4 separate regions of the Homo sapiens genome follow, and regions 2, 3 and 4 are each linked to region 1. Evidence: promoter capture Hi-C in 16 types of primary human blood cells and fetal thymus (Javierre and others, 2016). All regions are on one chromosome and are shown on one strand. Each heading gives the region's core, a stretch centred on a gene start or on the middle of the fragment in contact. The rest is flanking DNA. Distances are from core to core; before and after follow the strand shown.

Region 1 (3,705 bases), core at 823-3,322:
ATATGATGCTCAATGTGTTTCCCATCTGGTTAGTATAAAACATACAGTAAAGGCCTTGATAAGACAAAGACTGTAAATCTGATATGCTGTGAAATCCAGCTGACATTCAGTACATTTTAAGCAAGTGCAGTTGCCAAAAAGAGAAAACTTAAATTGTATATCTCTGTCCCTGGCACAGTTTTGCTTCCAGTAAAACTTTGAATAACGTTAAAATCTCTAATTTTTCCATAATACACAGGGAAGTGATACAGGTAAAAAACACTATGAATTTAGCATTTACCTCCTTTACTTAAATCTATTTAACACAAAGAGTTGGAACACACATTGTAAAAAAAGAGAAAAAGCACTCCAAAATTCAAATTAAGAGTCATTTCTAGCACAGAAAACCATCACTGGTGATAAGCTCACCACACATGTATGATGCATTTGTGTATGTTTGCCCAAAGAAGATGATGAAGTACTGACATTCTTCGAGTGAGTGGACTCAGTTGTCATTCCTCTCAACTTTTTATACTTCTTGTCTTGTGAATACGTTTTTCTTTCATTTATGAGAGAGAAACATCCTCAACAAGTGATCAAAGTCTTAGTTGGTTTTTAAAAATTCAAAATTCTTGCCTTCATTTCAAATATTTTTCAGGCTTACTTACTCATCAGCCTATTATGACAAAGAGAAATCATGTTCACATCTTCTTTTATCAGCTTCATGTGTACAAACATAAAAATGGAATATCTTCAGTCACCTAGATACTTCTCGTCCGATCATGAAGTAACCGCCAACGGGGAAAGAAAATTCCCCTTTCAGCAACAGTGAGGTCTCTCTTCTGCTCTTTTTTCATGACACTTTTCTGGGGATGGGGGACAAAATAAAAATTCTCTGAGGCTTCAGGTATGCTGAGAATGAATATAAACTGATGACTTAAACATTCTGCAATCACTTAATAGAAATTTTAGAATCACAGTAAAATCTCATATTATCTGCAACCTAAGCTAGGGCAAGTGATTTTTTTCTTATCCATTTACACGCACTTATTTGGAAACCAGTGACCGTCAGCAGAAGACAAGCAACTAACAATACAAAATATACAAGATAGAACTCTCCCGACAATATCTATAGTTTAACGCCACTAACGTGGCTTCAGTCACTTAAAAAATGTTTGTATTCAAATGCAGTTTACACAAAGATGAGTCCTGCTATCCTTGTTATTTCTTGTTCCCAAGGACCGAGGGACAAAAAACTGAAAGTTGAAAAGATCTTTTTTTTTTTTTTTTTTTTTAATTCCGGGGGAAGGTTTAGAGTTCATGGGATCAGAAGGTATCTTCCTAATGAGAACTACTCGGACCAGTCACTTTTCTCGGCGGGGTAACCGCGAATCGTGACCAGGCGCCAAGCCGAGGGGCGGGAGCTCCGCGCTCGGCGCTCACCTGTGGCCGAGTCCCTGTCCTCAGGTGGAGCCGCCAGAGGGAGCTCGGACCCCGGTGTCGAAAGACGCCTCTCCGTGCCCGTCCGCGGCTGGAAGAACCTAAGCAAGTTTCAGTCTTGGACAAGTCTCCCCTCTGTAGGAAACATTCAGGCTAGGAGTTTCCTGATCCGCCCCGCCTGTTGCATTTTTTCACTGGCGTCCTCCGACCCTGCCGCCCCCATTCTCCGCTCCCCGCTCTGGGGCTGAGTGAGGCAGGATGGCGAGAGACCCCTGAGCCACCAAGTCCGCTTACCTCAGGCAGATCCCGACGGGGGCTCGGCGCCGCACTGGGCCCCAAGGGAGACGGAGGTGGAGAGTTCCAGAAAACTGCTCTGCACGGCGGGCCAGGCTCCCGCGGGGCTCCGCAAGACCCCCGCGTCGTCTCCCGCGCTACGGCAGGCGCTGCCCCAGCTCGGTCTCCTCAGCCGCGCTCGGTCCCCGCGACCCGCACGGCCCGGACACGCCCGCCCTCAGGAAACGCCGGACGCTTGTGGGGGCAACCACGGACCGCAGGACAGAGACCCGCGGGCGGCGGGTTCTCTCGGTGGCGCCGTATCCAGAGCAGCGCCCGCGTGCCCAGGCGGTGATGTCGCCGCGGCCGAGGATCCTCTGTGCCAGCTCCGGCCGCGCAGCCCGGGGAGGGTGAGACGGCGACGCGGGCCGGCAAGCGGGGGCGGGGCGGAGGCAGGACGGGGCGGGGTTGAAGGCGGGGCTGAAGGCGGGGCCTCAGGGAAGGCGAGAGACAGCGACGCTGGCTGGCGGGCGTGGGGCGGGACGGAGACAGGACAGGGCGGGGTCAGAGGCGGGGCTTCGGGGAGGACGGGAGGAGCCGTGAGCAGGCCGGCGGCGGGCGGGGCGGGGCCGAAAGCAGGTGAGGCGGGGCCAAGCGCCCCGGGTTTCTAAGCGGAGGAAGCTCTAGGCGTTTGTGTTCTGGGCTTGCAGCGGTGGCCGCGCGCTCCCGGAGGAGTCGAGCTGGAGGAGGGGACAGTTTGGGAGTGCGAGAGTCTAAAGACGCTGCCAGGCTGGCGTTAAAACCTTTTGGTTATGGGAAGACGACAACTATATAATAGAGCCATAGTGGGGGCTGTGGGATTGACTCAAATGATGGGAGGAGCTGGAGTGGGAGGGGATAAGCCCTGGGACGACAGAAATCATCCTTTTGGAAAGAGCAAGGGCTGGGGAAGGAGGGAATGAGCACTCCCTTGGAACTGAGAGGCAGCCTGGCTGAGCTTGCTGTCCTTTGGAAAAGCAAAACCGAAATACCCAGATTAATATAGGAGGACAACTTCTGTAGCCCAGATGCTAACAAAGATCAAGGGAAAACAGAAAAGACTAATCAGCTTTACTGATGGAAAACAATTTCTCAGGCAGTATAAATAGGGGAAGCATGGGACAAACAAGTAGAAGGAGCCTCTTATTTAAAAATGGGACCTGGTATTCGGTAAAGACCTACATGCAGACAGGAGAAGGCAGTGTGCCCCGGCTACTACGACATGTGAGTGCAGTGCCAGGTCGTGGAAATCCTAGAGCAGGCTGGGACTCCTGTTGCACTCCACACATGGAGCTTCTCACAGATAGCTGAGATGACACTTTGGCATAAACCAACCCAAGCTCTGACCTCAAATGTAAAAAATAATAGCTTAGTAGTAATAAAAATACAGGGAAATATCAAGCTTCACAAATGAACAATTCCATTCTCAGTTGGGGATTAGTAACACATTCAGTCTCTTCATTTCCCATACTATTTTGGTAATATTTAATAAGATATATTTTAACATTTTAAAAATAAATGTCTTGCTTAGATCATTTGCTGCTGAAAATCAAACAGTAGACGACTGCTAGCAGAATAAATTTCAAATCATTTAACTTTGAGGTGAAATGTGGCCTCTAACTCCTCATCACTCTTCTGTTTTGGCCCCGTAGTAACCCCTAGCCCAGTCCAAATAGCCACACTTGCTTTTGCTTGGGTGCTTCAGTAACTATGCTTATTCCATTCTTTCCCTCACAGTGTCCTTTACCCAACCACCCCACTTACTAGTTAAAATTCTTCTGACTGTTGAAATTATCTGATCATCCAGGTCTCAACTCAGATGCTTACATTCTTCTGTAAATAACTCCTAAGTTTCCCTAGCCAGAATGTATTACTCCAGAACTATATCATTTGTACCTATATTCGGCCGTTTAGGTTGTTTATTTTCTGCTTTCTATTTCAACTGGTTGACTCCTGTACCCTATTCAAAACTCC
Region 2 (3,705 bases), core at 765-3,264, 1.1 Mb after region 1:
TGAATACCTTGTTTTTTAAATTTATTTATTGTATTTCGGTTTTATAGGTCCTGTGAAATTTATGCTTTAAGGAGGTTCTGCTTTGATGTGTTTCCAGGATTTAGTTCAAGATTTAGGACTCCTTTTAGCAATTGTGTAGTGCTGGCTTGGTAGTTTTGGTTTCTCTCAGCATTTGTTTTTCTGGAAAAAAATGGTATCTTTTCTTCATTTGTGAAGCTTAGTTTCACTGGATACAAAATTCTTGGCTGATATATTTTTTTTTAAGGAGGCTGAAGATAGGGCCCCAATCCCTTCTAGCTTGTAGGGTTTCTGCTGAGAAATCTGATGTTAATTTGATAGGTTTTCCTTCATTGGTTACCCTGTACTTTTGCCTCACAGCTCTTAAGATTATTTCCTTCATCTTGACTTTAGATAACCAGATGACAATGTGCCTAGGTGATGATACTTTTGCCATGAGCTTCCCAGGTGTTCTTTGAGCTTCTAGTATTTGGATGTCTAGGTTTCTAGCAAGGCCAGAGAAGTTTTTCTCAATTATTCCCCCAAATTTGTTTTCCAAACTTTTAGATTTTCTTTCTTCCTCAGGAATGCCAATTATTCTTGGGTATAGTCCCAGACTTCTTGGAGTCTTTGTTCATTTTTTAAAATTGTTTTTTCTTTTTGTTGGATTGGGCTAATTCGAAAACCTTGTCTTCAAGCTCTGAAGTTCTTTCTTCTGCTTGTTCGATTCTATTGCTGAGACTTTCTAGTATATTTTGCATTTCTCTAAGTGTGCCCTTTATTTCCTGAAGGTGTGATTTTTTTTTATTTATGCTATCTATTTCACTGAAGATTTCTCCCCTCATATCTGGTGTCATTTGTTTGTTTGTTTCCTTAAGTTGGACTTCACCTATCTTTGGTGCCCCCTTGATTAAATTAATAATTGACCTTCTGAATTCTTTTCCAGGTAATTCAGGGATTTATTCTTGGTTTGGATCCATTACTGGTGAGCTAGTGTGATTTTTTGGATCCATTGCTGGTGAACTAGTGTGATCCATATTACCAGAATTGTTTTCCTGGTTCCTTCTCATTTGAGTAGGCTATGTCAGAGGGAAGATCTGGGGCTCAAGGTTGCTGCTCAGATTCTTTTTTCCCACAGAGTGCTCCCTTGATGTACTACTCTCCCCCTTTCCCTAGGGATGTGGCTTCCTGAGAGCCAAACTGTAGTGACTGTTATTTTTCTTTTTGATCTAGCTAACCATCAGTCCTACCTCGCTCTGAGCTGGTAAAGGGGTGTCTGCACAGAGTCCTGTGATGTGAACAGTCTTCAGGTCTCTCAGGCATGAATACTGGCACCTGCTCTGGTGGAGGTGGCAGGGAAGTGAAATGGACTCTTAGTTGGGTCGTTAGTTATAGTTCTTTAGTGCACTAGTTTTGTGCTGGTGTGCCTCTTGCCAGGAGGTGACACTTTCAAGAGAGCATCAGCTGTGGTAGTATAGGGAAGATCAGGCAGTGGGAGGGATCCTAGAACTCCCAAGATAATATGACCTTTGTCTTCAGCTACCAGGGTGGTAGGGAAAGACCATCAGGTGCAGTCAGGGTTAGGCATGTCTGAGCTCAGATTCTCCTTGGGTGGGGCTTGCTGTAGCTGCTGTGGGGGATGGGCATGTGGTTTCCAGGTCAATGGAGTTATGTTCCCAGAAGGATTGTGCCTGTCTCTGCTGTGTCATGTAGGTTGTCGGGGAAGTGGGGGAAAGCCAGCAGTTACAGGCTTCACTCAGCTCCCACGCAACCCAAAAGTCCAGTCTCATTCCCACCGTTCCCCCACAACAGCACGGAGTTTGTTTCCAGGCAGTGGGAGAGCAGGGCTGAAAACTTGCCCCAGGCTACCAGCTTCCCAGCTGAGAAAGCAAGCAGGGCTTTCAGGCCTCCCTATCTGTTGAGTCTGCACACTGGATTCATGCCCTCCCCTGAGTTCTGGCCAGGAGACTTCGCATTCGGTTGGAATTGTTACAAAGTCCAGTTGGAGGTTTCCTTCCCCCTGTGGTCTTTTCCCAGTTCCTCTGGCAGCCCTCCCCAAGGACTCCAGAGATACAAGTCAGAAATGGCTTCCCTGGGGACCCAGAGAGTCCACAGGGCTTTTCCTGCTGTTTCCTCTACCACTGTATTTCACTCAGCTTTCTAAATTGACTCAGCTCCGGGTAAGATCATATCCTTCTCCTATGATCTAGGCCTTCAGGTTCCCCAGTGAGGGTGTTTAGGGGCAGACGATCCGATCCCTCTTTCCCACTTTCACAGTTTGGGCACTCACAGTATTTGGGCCGTCTCCTGGGTCCTACAGGAGGAATCCACTTCCTTCAAAGGGTCTATGGATTCTCTCAGCTTTCCTGATGTATTCCTGTAGTAGCTCTTGGAGAAAAAGTTCACGATGTGAGTCTCCACACACTGCTCTGTCCTCCCAAGTGGGAGCTGCTATTTAATCCTGTCTCCTATCTGTCATTTTCCCCACCACTCATCTCTCTGTTATTACTTACAGCTGCATGCAAGTCTACAATTACCTCAAAATAAAAAGGTTAATGTAAAAATAGATTACTCCAAATTATAAGAATATTTCCATTTCTTATATAGAAATCTAGGGAAGAAACATTTTTAAAATTCTGAAGGAAAACCTGCTAGAATCTAAAATAGTATGTTTGAACTCTCATTGAAATTTGAGGATAAAATGATGACATTCCCGATATAAAAGTACAAAGAAAGACTATTATTTATTCCCCTAATTGGATTAAAAACTCAATAACTTGATTTATTTTGGAAAAAATGAGAAAGGACTCCAAGAGAAAAAAGCGTAACATAGGAGAAATAATATAAAAATACATCACAATAGCAATTGCAGCCAGAATTATTATCGCAACTGTTAAGAAAGTATTCCTTTGAAAAAAGACATTAGTTTAAAATCCTAGATAGTCTTTGATTTGATACCAACTGTGGTATGTTTAAATAAATTTTTTAAACATCTCCTAAAATAATTGGAATAGGATGGAGAGCATCCAGATCACCAGAGGAATCAAAAAGAGGGAATTCTAATAATGGAGCAAAAAGCTGAAATGAAAGGAAAGACATTAAACACGAGAAAGTCTTACAAACAGAAAATATCAGGTAAGTATCAATAATAAGAGCAATGATGATTGGCACTAATTTAATAAATGTAAGTATCAAATTATCTCAAATAACATTGACTTGTCAAACAGGGTTAAAATACTAAAATAAAAAAGCATTCTCTGCACAAGTATACATCAAATCAGAAGAATATGGTAAGGCTGAAAATAATGAAATTGACACAGGAAAATAGAAAGAACTAAAAACAAAATGAACACTTTACCAAAGAAGAAATAGAATGGCTAATTAGCATAATAAGTGACATCTAACCTCTTTTGCAAAATCAAAGGAGATTTACCTTTCTCTCATTACATTACAATTTTTAAAAATAATATGAAAATGAAAATGTGGGGGAAACTAGATCCCTAATAAATTGGTACAAAATAAAATATAAAGAGTTTGTGTGTATACCATATGTACTTATAATTCACATTAGCATATAAAAGTGACTATGCAATTTATAGTTTAAAAAAAGTGTTTGTGATACTTTTTCCTTTCTTGACTTGTTTGACCACAGGCCCTTTTGTGAAGTAAGATACGTTAATATCCTATAAAACAATTATATACATGCTG
Region 3 (3,705 bases), core at 752-3,251, 1.1 Mb after region 1:
TGTGGGGGCAAGCACCTGTAGTTCCAGCTACTCCAGAGGCTGAGGCAGGAGAATAGCTTGAACCTGGGAGTCGCAGTAAGTCGAGATCACACCACTGCACTCCAGCCTGGGAGACAGAGTGAGATTCCATCTCAAAAAAAAAAAAAAAAAAAAAGTTTAGTTTCTGTATGCATCAAAAGGACGCCATTTCTAAACAGAAAGCTCAACACATGATTTGTAACTAGAATCAAATGGCACACAAATATATATTGACTTCTGTATTTGCCATTAAATGTACCATTTATTTAAGAAGCCTTAAGTTGAGATTGGAGTGAACTATCTCAAATATATAATGGAAGAGATGAGAGCTGTGTGCCTTTTCCCCAGCAGCAGAAAATATACTAGGAACAAGCAATTGCTTGATGATGTGTGGGACACAAGCAGATGTATTTGTATTCTGCCCTTTGAAAATAGTTCTTGTATATACATATTTTTATGCCTTACAGCTCAAGGGCTGGTGATTATCTTGTTTTTAAAAGAACTGCTAACCATTTCAGGAAATTGTTGAATCTAATATTTGAAAATGATTTCAGAGTGTGAAAACATTTTATGCACTTTGCAAATCAAATGCATTCGACTGGAAGGGACTAGCTTATGTTGCTGACTCTATTTTGCATGTTTTTAATACTTAGGAGTCAGATGGTTTAATCTTTGGTTTCTTTGATAAGATGCAGGTGCAATTATATTGATACACCTCAGTAAGTATCCTCTCTTAATGTGAGTTTTCAAGTTTGCCTCCTGACAGGACACTTTCTGCTAATGATAGAATAGTAAGAAAATTAATGGCTCTTTTTCCTAAAAGTTTTTTTTTCCTGCTTCCAGTCACACCTAGAGTTACTGAACATAAAAAGTTCACTTGAAACTGATCCAAAAAGAAAAAATAAACAGTAAAATCAAAAGCCAAAACTTCTTACAAATTTGGGTTGGAAGGCAGTTTTAGAAGAAAAACCTAATTAGTTCATTTTTTTCTGACAAAGTGAAACCTGAACAAGGGAAAAACAGACATAGCCACTAGCCTAGGGTCCCTGTTTCTTTTAACGAAAGTAACTTGGTGATTGGGTGGGCCTTATCACATCCCTATGAGATATGACCTTGGGACTACACTGTCTTCTCCTATAAATCATATCATTTGAAAACACACAATTCTATCCTGTAAAAGACGAATTTTTTTTTTTTTTTTTTTTGAGATGGAGTCTCGCTCTGTCGCCCAGGCTGGAGTGCAGTGGTGCGATCTTGGCTCCCTGCAAGCTCTGCCTCCTGGGTTCATGCCATTCTCCTGCCTCAGCCTCCCCAGCAGCTGGGACTACAGGCGCCCACCACCACGCCTGGCTAATTTTTGTATTTTTAGTAGAGACGGGGTTTCACCGTGTTAGCCAGGATGGTCTTGGTCTCCTGACCTTGTGATCCACCCACCTCGGCCTCCCAAAGTGCTGGGATTACAGGCGTGAGCCACCGGTACCCGGCAGTAAAAGACAACATTAAGAGAGTGAAAAGACAAGCCACAAACTGGGAGAAAATATTTGCACAACAAATATCAGATAAAGGACTAGTACAAAGAACTCTTAAATCTCAACAATAAGAAGAAAATGAACAACCCAATTTAACAATGCACAAAAGGTCTCAACAGACATCCTACCAAAGAAGATAACAGATGGCAAATAAGCATATTAAAAGATGCTCAACATCATATATCATCAGTAAATTGCAGATTAAAGCAACAATTAAATACTGCTATATACTTCTCAGAGTAGCTAAAATCCAAAACATTGGCAAAACCAAATACTGTTGAGGATAAGGAGCAATAGGAATTCTTATTCTCTGCTGGTAGGAATGCAAAATGGTACAGACACTTTGGAAAACAGTTTGAAAATTTCTTACAAAGTTAAACATACTCTTACCCATAGAGTCCAGCAGTCATGATCCTTGGTATTTACCCAAATTAATTGAAAACTTAGGATCACACAACAACCTGCACTGAAATTTTATAGCACCTTTATTCGTAATCGCCAAGATTTGGAAGCAAACGGATGTCCTTCAATAGGTGGATTAATAAATAAACTGCAGTATATCCATACAGTGGACTATTATTCAGCACTTGTAAGAAATTAGCCATCAAGCCATGAAAAAGACATGGATGAAATGTACATGAACATTGCTAGATGAAAGAAGCCAGTCTGCAAAAGTTACATACTGCATGATGCCAATTGTGTGATTTTTCTGGAAATGGCAACTATGGAAACAGTTAGAAAAAAAGAAAAATTAGTTGTTGCCAGGGGTTTGGAGGGAGAAAGTAAGGGATGACTAGGTGGAGCACAAGGGGATTTTAGAGCAGTGAAACAATTCTACAGGATACTGTAATTGTGGATACATGTCATTATACATTGGTCAAAAACCCATAAAATGTACCACACAAAGAGTAGGCCCTGATACAAACTATGGGCATTAGTTGATGTGTCAATATTTGCTCATCAATTGTTACAAAATGTATCACATTAATGGAAAATGTTTATAATAGGGGAAACTGGAGGAGTTAAAGAGTAAATTAGAATTCTGTGCTTTATGTACAATTTTTCTATAAAACTTAAACTACTCACAAAATAAAGTATAATAACTTTTTTTTTTTTTTTTTGAGACAGTCTGGCTCTGTCGCCCAGGCTGGAGTGCAGTGGCGCGATCTCAGCTCACTGCAACCTCCACCTCCTGGGTTCAAGCGATTCTCCTGCCTCAGCCTCCCGAGTAGCTGGGACTGCAGGTGCGTGCCGCCACGCCCAGCTAATTTTTGTATTTTTAGTAGAGATGCGGTTTCACCATGTTGGCCAGGATGGTCTCGATCTCTTGACCTTGTGATCCACACTTCATGCTAAAAACGCTCAATAAACAAAGTATTGGTGGAACATAGCTCAAAATAATAACAGCCATTTATGACAAATCCACATCCAATATCATACTGAATGGGCAAAAGCTGGAAGCATTCCCCTTGAAAACCGGCACAAGACAGGATGCCCTCTCTCACCACTCCTATTTGACATATTATTGGAAGTTCTGGCCAGGGTAATCAGGCAAGAGAAAGAAAGGTATTCAAATAGGAAGAGAGGAAGTCAAACTGTCTCTGTTTGCCGGCAACATGATCCTATATCTAGAAAACCCCATCGTCTCAGCCCAAAAGCTCCGTAAGCTGATGAGCAACTTCAACAAAATCTCAGGATACACAATAAATGGGCAAAAGTCACAAGCATTCCTATACACCAACAGTAGACAAGCAGAGAGCCAAATCATAAATGAACTCCCATTCACAATTGTTACAAAGAATAAAATATCTAGGAATACGACTAGCAAGGGATGTGAAGGACCTCTTCAAGAATTGCAAACCTCTGCTCAAGGAAGTAAGAGAGGACACAAATAAATGGTAAGACATTTCATGCCCGTGGATAGGAAGAAACAGTATCATGAAAATGGCCATACTGCCCAAAGTAATTTATAGATTCAATACTATTCCCATTCAACTACCACTGACATTCTTCCATTGAATTAATTCAATGGATTAATTAATTAAATTAACCATTGAATTAAAAAACAAAGCTACTTTAAAATTCATATGGAATCAAAACAGAGCCCGTATAGCCAAAAAAATCCTAAGCAAAATGAAAGAAGCTGAAGGTATTATGC
Region 4 (3,705 bases), core at 311-2,810, 1.1 Mb after region 1:
TTTCTAATGTGTTACATTTTCCAGAAAATACAAACTAAGGATAACCCCCTAAAAAGAAATTTTCATTGACATCTCTTTCTTTTACCTACTGAAATCATTGAGTTTGTGATATTTCACAGATATAAATGCCCAGGCTTTAAAATGTGTCTATTACATTTATAAAAAGATGAAAAAAACATAAAAATAGTGTGCATAAAAGGAATACTTAATATTTCAAATTCTAATTAACATTCCAGATGTAAAGAATACGAGTCCAATTATTCTACTCCTTGATATTATTCCTCTATTTACATAAACTGAATGTTATTTTTCTACACACAAATCTTTATATCCTTTATGAAATACCTAATTTTCACATGTCCTTTTGTTATTTTAGACAAAAAACTTATAAGTGTGCAATAATTTCCATAAAAATAAATTCCGCAACCCTTTAGTTTCTATAATTTTTGATACTTAACCCCTGACACAGAATCATCTCATTCAGTATGTTGCCTGTGGCAATAGAGAATAACTCAGCAGTAGTCTTAGAAAGAAGATGAAGAGCTCCCAGCAGGGTTGTAAGCCACTGCAATAACATCTAGAGAGGGGTGTGGAGAATTGCTTCCTGATACAATGGTGATTAACCTACACAACAAGAGATTCCTTCATTATATAGTCTTAGTCTACCAAACTTCCAAATATTGCAGCACTTGCATAATCGTAAAATATAATTAAAGCATTGTTGGTATACCTTCTTAATTATTATAAGTTGTACAGGTTTATTTTTTATTTGAATAAAAAAAATGCACCCCCTAATTTTCTCTAAATGCGTATTCTAATGTTTGAGAGAACACATTTTAAAGACAAAATTGATCATTTAAGCAAATTAATTATCTGTGATGTCTCATATGTCCAATAACTATTAAAGCTTCTTTTCAACAGTTCTTAGAAGCCTAGTTTTATAATCTACCAACTACCTTTTAGTGTCTTCTATGCATTTGTGTCACTTCACATTGCAAATTACAAATGTAAAACATCCGTGATTTACAATGAAAATCACAGGTAAAAATCAATGCTAAAAACGTGTTCGATATCCTATTAATAGTGACACATTGTTAAGTTAAAAACAATATAGATAGGAATATGCAGACATACACAGTTGTATATTCATACAGTAGGAAACTAACAGCATTAAAAAAATTTACGAGTTTTAACATCGTGAAAAAATGTTGACAACACAACATATAGTAAAAACAAGCACTTCTCAAAGCAAATGTAATAATCATTTTATTTAAAGAGGAAAATAACAATTTTATAATAGAGCAGCTGGGAAGACATCACCTTAACCAAGTGTTCTACTATAAAGGGACAAATCAAAATGTGTGCCACTTATAGGGACAATCAGGAAGCATCTCTTCTTTGACCTCCTTGTCAAACATTCTGCTATGGTTTAAATTTTTGTGTCAACCCAAAATTCACATGTTGAAATCTTTACCCCTAAAGTGACAGTATTAGGAGGTGAAGCCTTTGGGAAATAATTAGGTAACAAGGGTGGAGCTCTCATGAATGAGATTATTGCCTGTATACAATGGATGGCCCCTGAGAGCTCTCTTGCCCTCTTTCTTTCATAAAGGAGACAGATAAAGGAGAAGTCAGTCCCTACCACCAGAAAAGGACTCTCACCAGAACCCAACCTGCTGGCACTCTGATCTCAGATTTTAGCTTCCAGCATTGTGAAAAATAAATGTCTGTTGTTTAAGGCCCTCCGCTTATTGTATTCTGCTACTGTAGCCTGAACTAAGACACATGTGTAACTAGGATCTCATTATGATGAAACATTCGTCAAACCCAGATTGAGACACACTTATTGAACTGGTCTGTAATCTTCAAAATGTCAAGGTCATGAAAATCCAGAAAAAAAATTGAGGAAAATTATAAATGGAAGACAACTAAAGAAAATTGACAAATACAACAGAAGATTCAGGACATGAATTCTTTTGCTGTGTAGGACATTATGAAAAAAATTGGCAAAACTTACTTGATCTCTGAGAACTAGATAGTAAGAGTGATGTCGATTTCCTTATTTTGATGGCAAAATTGTAGTTATGCAAGAAGATGTTTTTGTTTACAGGAAATAACAGCTTTGGAGCATGATAGGACATCATATTGCAATGCATACTGAAATGATTCTGGGGAAAAAAAAGATTACCTTTACTGTTCTTGCAGCTTTTCTGTAAGCTTTAGTTTGTTGAAATAATAACCAAAATTAACAACCACACGCCACCTTGTTACACGAATGACTGAGGAATAAAATTTGTCTAGTGTTTCCTCCTTGTGTTTGTTCTGTTACGTACTCCTCTCATGGAAATTTCAGTGAATTCCCAAGCATTGCTTTTTTGCTCTGCAAATCCACCCCTATGATCACAGGGCATTTTTCCAGCCAACGTCTCTCCAAACCTCTGACCAGCCGGAGCCAGCAGACCCCTCAGGCTCTTCCAGGCTGCAGCATCTTCCTAGGCACCTGTTCCTCCAAGGGTTCTCACCATTAACTTGATGTGTCAACCTGGCTGGACCACACTGCTCAGATATTTGTTCAAACACTCTTCTGGATGTTTCTGTGAGGATGGTTTTGGATTAGATTTACACTTAAATCTGTGGACTTTAAGTAAAACAGTTTGCCCTCCATAATGAGTGTGAGTCTCATCTAGTGAGTTGAAGGCCTTAATAGAAAACAACAGATCTTCCCCGAGCAAAACTCTGGCAGTGGATGACCTTCAGACTTGAACTGCTTGAACATGAACTTGAACTGCTGCATCAGCTTTGCTCTGGGTCACCAGACTGCCAGCCCACCCTGCAAAGCTTAGACTTGCCAGCCTCCATAATCATGTGAGCCAACTCTTTGAAATCTCTCTCCCTCCCTATATGTATAGAGATAAATGTGTGTGTGTAAATATACATGCATATACATATGTATATATACACACATATACAGACACACATACATTATATATACACACAATAGCATTTGTGTGTGTGTGTGTATATATATATATAGAGAGAGAGAGAGACATAGAGACACACACACAGAGAGAGAGAGGGAGATGGAAATGGACTTGGAGATGGAGAGAGATGAAGATGGAGAGAGATAGAGAGACATGGAGATAGAGATGGAAATGGAGAGAGATGGAGATGGAAATGGACTTGGAGATGGAGAGAGATGGAGATGGACTTGGAAATGGAAATGGAGATGAGGTGGAGATGGAGAGGATATAGAAAGATGCACAAATCCTACGGGCTCTGTTTCTCTGGAAGATCCTGACTAACACAGTGCTAACAAGGACCTTCCTCTACTTCTCCCTGAGTATACTTGAGATGTAACTATTCACAAAACTTTTCTTAAAAACAATGAAAATGTTTTACAACTACTTGTGCAAAGACCTACTATGGAGACCTGAGAAGAGCAAATCCAGGAAGAAGCCCTAAGGAGAGGAAGGCAGGCCTCACAGGACGGAGTGCGGTTTCCATGCCTGATGACTCCTTTAGCGAATGTTTGCATCAGGGCTTTCACCTGACAATAAATTTTACTGCAGGGGACAAATCAGGCCTCCCTCCCCACAGTTTGAAGGCGTATTGCCTTTTCTATCTGACTGAAAATTAAGCATCTGTGTTCCTTTGAGGAAAATTCCTAGATTTACTCAAAACTGTAATCTAGCCCCTATTTCCCAA

What was found. The method cuts DNA at HindIII sites, captures the fragments that hold promoters and counts their contacts. A CHiCAGO score of 5 or more calls a contact.
Region 2: a fragment that was not itself captured here is called in contact with the fragment with the promoter of DSEL in region 1 in 4 of 17 cell types (megakaryocytes, endothelial precursors, total CD4 T cells and 1 more); the score reaches 6.2 in megakaryocytes.
Region 3: a fragment that was not itself captured here is called in contact with the fragment with the promoter of DSEL in region 1 in 8 of 17 cell types (endothelial precursors, naive CD8 T cells, total B cells and 5 more); the score reaches 8.8 in endothelial precursors.
Region 4: a contact is called between a fragment that was not itself captured here and the fragment with the promoter of DSEL in region 1, in 1 of 17 cell types (total B cells). The highest score is 5.5, in total B cells.

What each region holds. Positions count from the first base shown.
Region 1 is chr18:67,514,648-67,518,352 of GRCh38, forward strand. DSEL (dermatan sulfate epimerase like) reads right to left here and starts at 2,073. Exons shown (of 2, transcript NM_032160.3): 1 at 1,714-2,073; 2 at 1-845. It overlaps DSEL-AS1 (DSEL antisense RNA 1), which reads left to right and starts at 1,899. Exons shown (of 5, transcript NR_033921.1): 1 at 1,899-2,102. The HindIII fragment of the contact is 6,208 bases long and covers 1-3,131 here.
Region 2 is chr18:68,636,962-68,640,666 of GRCh38, forward strand. No RefSeq gene overlaps it. Among named protein-coding and RNA genes, the nearest start is that of TMX3, 76 kb to the right of the region's middle. The HindIII fragment of the contact is 3,600 bases long and covers 215-3,705 here.
Region 3 is chr18:68,616,643-68,620,347 of GRCh38, forward strand. No RefSeq gene overlaps it. Among named protein-coding and RNA genes, the nearest start is that of TMX3, 97 kb to the right of the region's middle. The HindIII fragment of the contact is 8,753 bases long and covers 1-3,705 here.
Region 4 is chr18:68,595,670-68,599,374 of GRCh38, forward strand. No RefSeq gene overlaps it. Among named protein-coding and RNA genes, the nearest start is that of TMX3, 120 kb to the right of the region's middle. The HindIII fragment of the contact is 1,310 bases long and covers 906-2,215 here.